2 separate regions of the Homo sapiens genome follow, and region 1 is linked to region 2. The links are contacts of gene promoters, found by promoter capture Hi-C in human tissues and cell types (Jung and others, 2019). All regions are on one chromosome and are shown on one strand. The core of a region is centred on a gene start or on the middle of the fragment in contact, and the rest is flanking DNA. Distances in the headings are between cores, read along the strand shown. Region 1 has its middle 35 kb from the start of NOS2. Region 2 holds the start of SLC13A2 (solute carrier family 13 member 2).

Region 1 (3,622 bases), core at 548-3,047, 640 kb after region 2:
AATTTTCCATTGGGTTCTTCCTGCCCACTGCACAAATAAAGACCACAGCATTGCAGCAAAGAAAGAGTTTAATTGACATGAGGCTGGCCATGCCATGCAGGAGATTGAGTTAGCACTCAAATCAATCTCATCTCAGGCTAGTAGGTTAGGGGATTTTCAAAGGCTCTTGAGCTGAGTTGCTTCTGGGTGGGGCCACAGGAATGGAGTTGGCAGGTCTAGGTGGAGCCATGGATAGAAGACATGCAAAAAGCCTGAAAAGATATATAAAAAGGCCAATCTTAGGTTCTACAATAGTGATGCTATTTGCAGGACCCCTGGAATAATGGCTGACAGTCATTTATGTCTATGCCTTAGCAGAATTTGGGCTTCTCTCCTCCCCCTAGACTGAGGGTCTCTTATTAGCTTTACAAAGGTGGTTGAACTCTGGGGAAGGCCTATAACCTAAGTGTCTTCCAAAGTTAGCTAGGCCTAAACCCAGGAATGATTAAAGGAAATGAAAGAGGAGGGTGGGTTAGATCAGATCTCTTTCACTGTCATAATTTTCTCATTGATATAATTTTTGCAAAGGTGGTTTCAGTTCCCTGACTGAACCCAAGCTGCTGTAGTGAAATGGTGGAACTTTAGCTGCTAGACTACAGTATGGAATGGTCTTTGCTGTTATTCCTGGAGAAGATCTAAGTCATGTAGTTTTTAGCTTGCAATATTTTTTAACTTTGTTTTAGGTTATATTTTTGTTCTTTAATTTAGTCAAGAGAATTCTTAAGGCTAGCCATGACGCTATTGCATTTCCTTTTTAAAATTTGATTTTCCCATCAACTGTTTAGAAAAAGAGATCTCTAAAATTATTTTTTGAATTTAGGAGTCCAATTTAAAGGACCCCTTTTCAGGCCATTTTCCTCCAGAGTCTAAAGAATATTGCAGCCAAGCAGTACTACAATTAAAAAAAAAAAAAACTTTTTCTTTTTCATGGGCTGAAAGCTAAAAATGGCCCAGTTCTGCAGAATACACCCTAATGGGCTGCAAGGTAGAATAGAGCTTGTGTTTCCCATTTTAGATGACAAAACCATAGGTGATGAAAACCTTGCTGCCTCAGCCAGGCTTCAGATAGAGTTTCAAGCAAGTCTGTTTTCAGCAAGTCAAAACCAAATATGGTTTCTCAAGTTCTGGATCCCTTCAGCTCTCTAGTGAGTATCCCCAATCAAACCAAATACTCTAAGAAAGCAGGGCCCAGGGCCTTGCCAAAGCAAAGTCAGTTGTCCTGCCAAAGCAGAACCCAGTGTCCAAAGAAAAAAATACCTTGGGGCTGTTGCCCACAAACCTACCACTTACGAAGGACATCTTCCAAGCCCAGTGCCTTATTTTTAATGCTACAAAAGTAAAAATGCCATGGCCCATGACACCTGGTCAAGCATAAAATGCATGGATCCATCCCTGAGCAAAATAATTCAGCCAACTGCCGGACAGGGTCCAAGGGTGGCTGCAGCCAGGGGCTGGTGTGCCATGGGCAAGGCCACCGGTTGGGACTTTCGCCCCTTTGTAGTTGCCAACTAATTGTTACTGAATCCACTTGGGATCCACTGACCACTCACCTGGCACAGTAAGTCCAAACATCTACACCAAGGTTTGCAGTGGGAGAAAGGAGGATGTTTATTTGCGAGTGCCCAGCAAGGAGAATCCAGCAGCTCATGCTTAAGACCTGGCTTCCCCGATGGCTTGTTAAGGGTTTTTTAAGGCAGGGAGGCAGAGGTTACAGGCACAACTACATATTAATACATGGAGGCTATATATTGCTTTGACCTAAAAAGGGGGGATGTCTCAAAGCATTCAAAGATTCAAAGATTTTCTGATTTGCAATTGGTTAAGGAAGCAAAGCTTTGTCTAAAAATTTGGGGTCAGTAGAAAAGAATGTAAGCTCTGGTTTGTGGGTATGATTTCCTCCAGGTCCCTCAGGAAGAACTTCAGAAGAAAGAGGAGTGGTCAGAGTTCAATCCGCAGTTCCCCCTTATCTGAGGCCTGTGTGCTAGTGGATCCATTTGGTAGGGGTCCAGGTACCTGAAAAACAACTCAGAGAAACGTATGTTAAGACGTTATCGTTAGGGATAAAGGGATAAATATAATGTTCTACAGGGAACATCTTGTGACTCTAACTTCCTTGGTTATAGTTTTAAGCTACTATTACCTTCTTAATGATCAGGTCACTCATTTTCTTCTCAGGGCTAGCTAGGTGCCTGGAGTTTCCCTTGAAGAAACTCTTTTCCTTTATTTCCATGTTGCAGGGAGGGGCCTACAGGCTCCTATGAGGGGTCCCTGCTCTATCTCAGTCCTTGCCCTAAAGAATCTTACATAATTGTTCTTATTGCTTCTTTTTGGAGGTGGCAGGGATTATATCTCTGAATCTCACAAAAGCACTGGTGCTGCTTTTCCAATAGCACTTTGCTTTGCTTCTGAGCTGTTTCGATTTGTTTGTTGTTGGTTTTCATTATGTATTCTGGGAGCCAATGACTTGGCTGGGCACTTGAAATCCTACATTTGAACTTCTGGCAGCTCCCTGTCTGTTTTCACACAAATGGACTTGCTGGGATCAGTAGGGAGACACCTCTGGTCTTAATACCTGCAGCGTTGCAGGTCTGGGTGTGGTCATAGCCATCTTGGCATCCAAGTGCAATGCATTACTCATGTTTGTGGTGATGCTGGTGTAGACAAACCTACCGTGCTGCAGTTGTACAAAAATATCTCACAGACAGTTATGTAAGGTATATAATACTTGATAATGATAATACAATGACTATGTTACTGGTTTGTGTATTTCCTATACATATGTAAACAAATAACTATCATTTTTATTGACTATGTGAATATGACAATATACTTTTTACTGTTATTTCAGAGTATACTCCTTGTACTTATTTTTTTAAGTGAACTATAAAATAGCCTCAGGCAGGTCCTTCAGGAGGTATTCCAGAGGAAGGTATGTTATCACAGGAGATGACAGCTCCATGCACATTGTTCCCCCAAAGACCTTCCAGTGGGACAAGATGTGGAGATGGAAGGCAGTTGTGATATTGATGATCCTGACACTGTGTAGGCCTAAGCTAATGTGTGGTGTGCCTTAGTTTCTAATAAAACAGTTTAAAAAGTAAAAAAAAAAACAAGAATTAACAAGAAAAGCTTATAAGAATAGAGACAAAATATTTTTGTATAGCTGTGCAATGTATTTGTGTTTTAAGCTGTGTTATTATGAGTCAAAAAGTTTTTTAAAAATTAAAAAGTTTATAAAGTAAAAAAGTTATAGTAAGCCAAGGTTAATTTATTATTGAAGAAAGGAATTCTAAATGAATTTAGTGTCATCTAAATGTACAGTAAATCTACAGTAGTGTACAATAATGTCCTAGGCCTTCATCTTCACTCACCACTCACCTACCGATTCACTCAGAGCAACTTCCAGTCCTGCAAGCTCCATTCATGGTACGTGCCCTCTACAGGTATACCTTTGAAAAAAACTTTTGTACTGTATTTTTTTACTGTGCCTTTTCTATGTTTAGATATGCAAATGCTTACCATTGTGTTACAGTTACTTACAGTATTCAGTACAGTCACATGCTGTACAGGTTTGTAGCCTAGG
Region 2 (3,811 bases), core at 953-3,452:
GGAAAACCTCAGAGTCAGATGGAGAAGGAACCTCAGAGTCAGGAAAGGTGGGAAGGGGCAGGGCTGGGCAGGAACCAGGAGAAGGTGTCACCAAAGCCAAGAGAAGACAGCACGGCAAAGACGGGGTGACAGCTGTGACAAATGCTGCCGAGGGACTGAGGAATGTGAGGGTGGCCCAGGGTTTGGTCACAAGGAAGTTGATGGGATCTGAGTCTTGGAGATGGGAGCTGACAAAAGAGAAAGTGCGCTTGTGGTGTAGACAGTGTCTTGAGACTTCCTGTTATGAGAGAGAGCAGAGAAAGAGGCACTATCCTGGAAGGAGCGTGGCCTTGAAAGAGAGCTCTTGTTTGTTTAAGATGAGAGATATTACAGCACCTCCGTATGTGGATGGGGGAGATCAGGCAGAGAGGAAATATTTATCTTGTAGGAGAGTGAGAGGACAATTGCAGGAGCAAAGTCCTTGAGAGGGGCTGGCCTCTCCTAGACAGGACCAGAGTCAGGATGGGGCTGGCAGCATCTGTGAGCCAGAGGCAGGTAGCAGGGCCAGATACGGTGCACAGAAGACAGGGGCTCCTAACACATCCCAGTCTCACCAACAGGCATGGCTTCTAGCACTGACTCAGGATTTCCTGTGTGACCTGGGCAAGTTACTGAATCTTTCTGTGCTGTGCTTCCCCAGGTCGAGGGGAATTGGGAAGAAATCAAAATCCCTGTCTGGCTTCCCTCCTGGGGTTAACACACTTGCCCCAGCCTGTCGGAAAACCCATCTGATGGGTCCCTAGCACTGAGATGCCACCGGCTTTGGCCTGAGATGAAGGTCATCTCAAAGGTCAGCTGGGCCTTGTTACTGACCAGGTGTCAGGGGCCCAGGGGCTGTGCCACTATCACCCCCAGTCTCTCACCCCTTTGGGATACCATGAACAAAAAAGTCTGACTCAATTTCTCTATCTATGACAAAAGGAAGAAAATGGCTTGATGGGCAGTTCTGGGGGTGTGGGGTGGGGCAGGAGGCAGCAGGGTGGAGAGAAGACATGCTTTGGCACCAGATCACACCCCCAGCTCTGAACCTCCCAGCTGTGTGATTTGCCAGAGGCCGACTGACTGAAGATTGAACTTCAAGGCCTTCCCCCTGGACCCTTCCCAAAGCCCCAAACTAATTTCAGATTAATACTTTTGTGTCCTTTTTCTTACAGAGTGGGGCCCAAAAGTGTATAATATCCAAGTTCCATGAAACTTGGATCTGCCCTGGGACTTTGACTAAGTGACTTAACCTCACCTTCCCCATTTGTCAAATGGGACAGTCAGGCCTGACCTCTTAAGATGGTGGAAAAGGTTACTGGGTGCCTAGGGCAGGGCAGGCATTGGCGGCTTGATTTAATGAGAGATGAAGTTATGACTTCTGCTGGGGGCGGAGGAGGAGGCAGTGACGCCTGGTTGTGCCCAGCTCCCCCTCCATCCAGGGCACAGTTTTTGTGCTGTCTACCTGCAGCGGTCCCCTCTTCCAACTCCCACCCCTCCTCCTCCACAGACTTAGCCCTTGAATCCACAGGTGAACTCTTTCTCTTCCTGTTTATGCTCTTAAAGATGCAGACCGCCTGCAGCCAGCTTTCTCCTATTCTCCTTCCAACCCTCTTCACTCTGCTGCTGCTTACCCAGCCGTCCCCTCCCCACAGCCAGCCCATCTCAGCCGCCATGGAGCCCAGTCCAGGGCTAGGTGGGCACACAGTAGGTAGATCAGCTCCATCTGCCCCCCTTGCATCTTGTTGATGGAACTGGTTTCCTGTTTCCTAGGGCAGTAGGTTGCAAACCCACCTAAGTAATTCACGCTGGGCTCCTACAACTGGGTGCCAAGCAAAAGCCCCTTTGACCTCCTAGCCCTCAGTCCTCAGGAGGAGCAGGGGGCGATAGCCTCACTTCCAGGGCAGGGGCAGTGAGGAAGTTATGCTGGATCCTAAGGATGCCCAACCCCGGCCCAGACAGTCCCTCCTCTGCCCCCTGGAGTTATCTGTGCTCAGAACACCAAGTCCTTACCTTACTGGGGACGAGGATGGGCAGAGGCAGCAGGAGAATGGGCACGAAGAACACGATCAGGTAGGAGCGATAGGCCCACAGGGCCTGCCAGCAGGTGGCCATGGTGTGGAGCAGCAAGGGCTGCTACAGCCACTGCCTCCAGGAGCTGGGTAACAGAAGGACCAAAGATGCAGCCAAGCAGGCAGGTGGCAGGCTTATATAAAGCCAGTTGAGTGTTAACCATTGACCCAGTCTGGCAATCAGAGTGTTTTTGGAGTTGGGGAGGTGAGAGTAAGGAGGAGGGACCCACAGGCGGAGTAAAGATCAGGAAGGGAGAGGGAGAAGGAAGGAGGAAAGAACAAGGATTAAAAAACTTCAGGTTCCTTCAAGAAGTTAATCCCAGCGTTAACTCCTTCTGTTCTTGGAGGCTGCTGAGGGTGGTGCTGGAGGAGCTGGAGAAGGAAGGAGAGTCCCCCAGCCACCCTCCACAGGCAGCCCCCAAGCCACCTCCGCTGGCCCGGCCTTTCCTTTCTGCTGTTCTCCAAAGCTAGGTTCTCAGCTGAGCACTTTATGTGACAGCCTGGGTGGGGTGGCCCTGCCCTGCCCACAGAGATGCCCTAGGAATTTTCAGTCTAAGATTGACAGTAGCTAAGGCCTGGAGCAAGTCCTCCTCCTCCTCCTTCCAGGTATCGAGGACCATCAAAGTCCCTGGTCCTGACTACATCTTGTGTGACACTGATCCACCGACTTAACCTCTCAGAATTAGCCACTTCCTTATTCTGCAGTAATATCTTGCTATTGTGAGGCTCAAATTAGACAACTTATATATGTTGAGCTTTGATGCATGGCAGGTGTACGATGAAGGTTAGTTTCTTTCAGGCTCTTCCTAGCCCCCTCGCCCCCCAGCAAAGATTGTCTCTTATTTTGGAAACATACTAGATCTCTCATTTATCCATCATCCATCCATCCATCCATCCATCCATCCAACCATCCATCCATCCATCCCTCCACCAAGCAAGTATTTAGTACCAATTATGTATTCAGCCCTGTGCTCAGTGCTAAAGATACAGAGATTAAAATGCTGCTGCTGCTGCTGGTGGTAAAGACTGACATTTGCTCAGCACTTAGTACAAGTCAGTTACTGTACTTCATCAACTCGGTAACTACACCATGGGTTAGGTGTTACTATTCCATTTAACAGATGGGGGAACTGAGGCCAAAGGACATGGAGCCAGCCAGAATTCACACATGCATTATGGGTATCCTGAGGGAGGTCCAAACCAGGGCAGAAGCTCTGGGTGAAAGGCACCAGGCAAGGGCTCCTGGAAGAGATGGCATCTGAGCGAAGGCTTGAGAGCTCAGTCTTACTTGGCACGAGGTGATAGGGGAAGGGGCACAAGGAGAGGGAAGAGTGAACGAAGGCCTGGAGGGTGGCAAGTGCATGCGTGTGTGTGTGTATGTATGTTGAACGGAGCAAGTTGTAGTTTGGAAGAAATTGTGGGTCTTATCTCTGGCCAGACCCTCAGTCTCCTGGCGCCCTCACCCCTCCTCACCCTGACTGCACGCAGTTGAAGGTCAATGCATGTTTCTGAGGTTATCAGAGTATGATGATCCGTGTGTGCTAGGATAAGGAGGCGGGGTATCAGGGAGAATGTTTCAGGCAGCGAAGACAGTCTGGGAAGAGATGCAGAAGCGTGGGGACGTTTAGAGAACAGAAGGTTCTGCGTGGTTGGAATGTGGATTTGCGGGGGACAGGATTAAGAGCTGATAACTATAGTTTTAGGTGTACCATAGCATGGCC

What was found. The method cuts DNA at HindIII sites, captures the fragments that hold promoters and counts their contacts. A contact is called where the count stands out against the background at its distance.
Region 1: a contact is called between a fragment that was not itself captured here and the fragment with the promoter of SLC13A2 in region 2, in 2 of the 25 tissues and cell types used here (dorsolateral prefrontal cortex and pancreas).

The regions. Positions count from the first base shown.
Region 1 is chr17:27,833,798-27,837,419 of GRCh38, reverse strand. No RefSeq gene overlaps it. Among named protein-coding and RNA genes, the nearest start is that of NOS2, 35 kb to the right of the region's middle. The HindIII fragment of the contact is 6,535 bases long and covers 1-3,622 here.
Region 2 is chr17:28,472,035-28,475,845 of GRCh38, reverse strand. SLC13A2 (solute carrier family 13 member 2) reads right to left here and starts at 2,202. Exons shown (of 12, transcript NM_003984.4): 1 at 2,032-2,202. The coding sequence starts at 2,133. The HindIII fragment of the contact is 27,138 bases long and covers 1-3,811 here.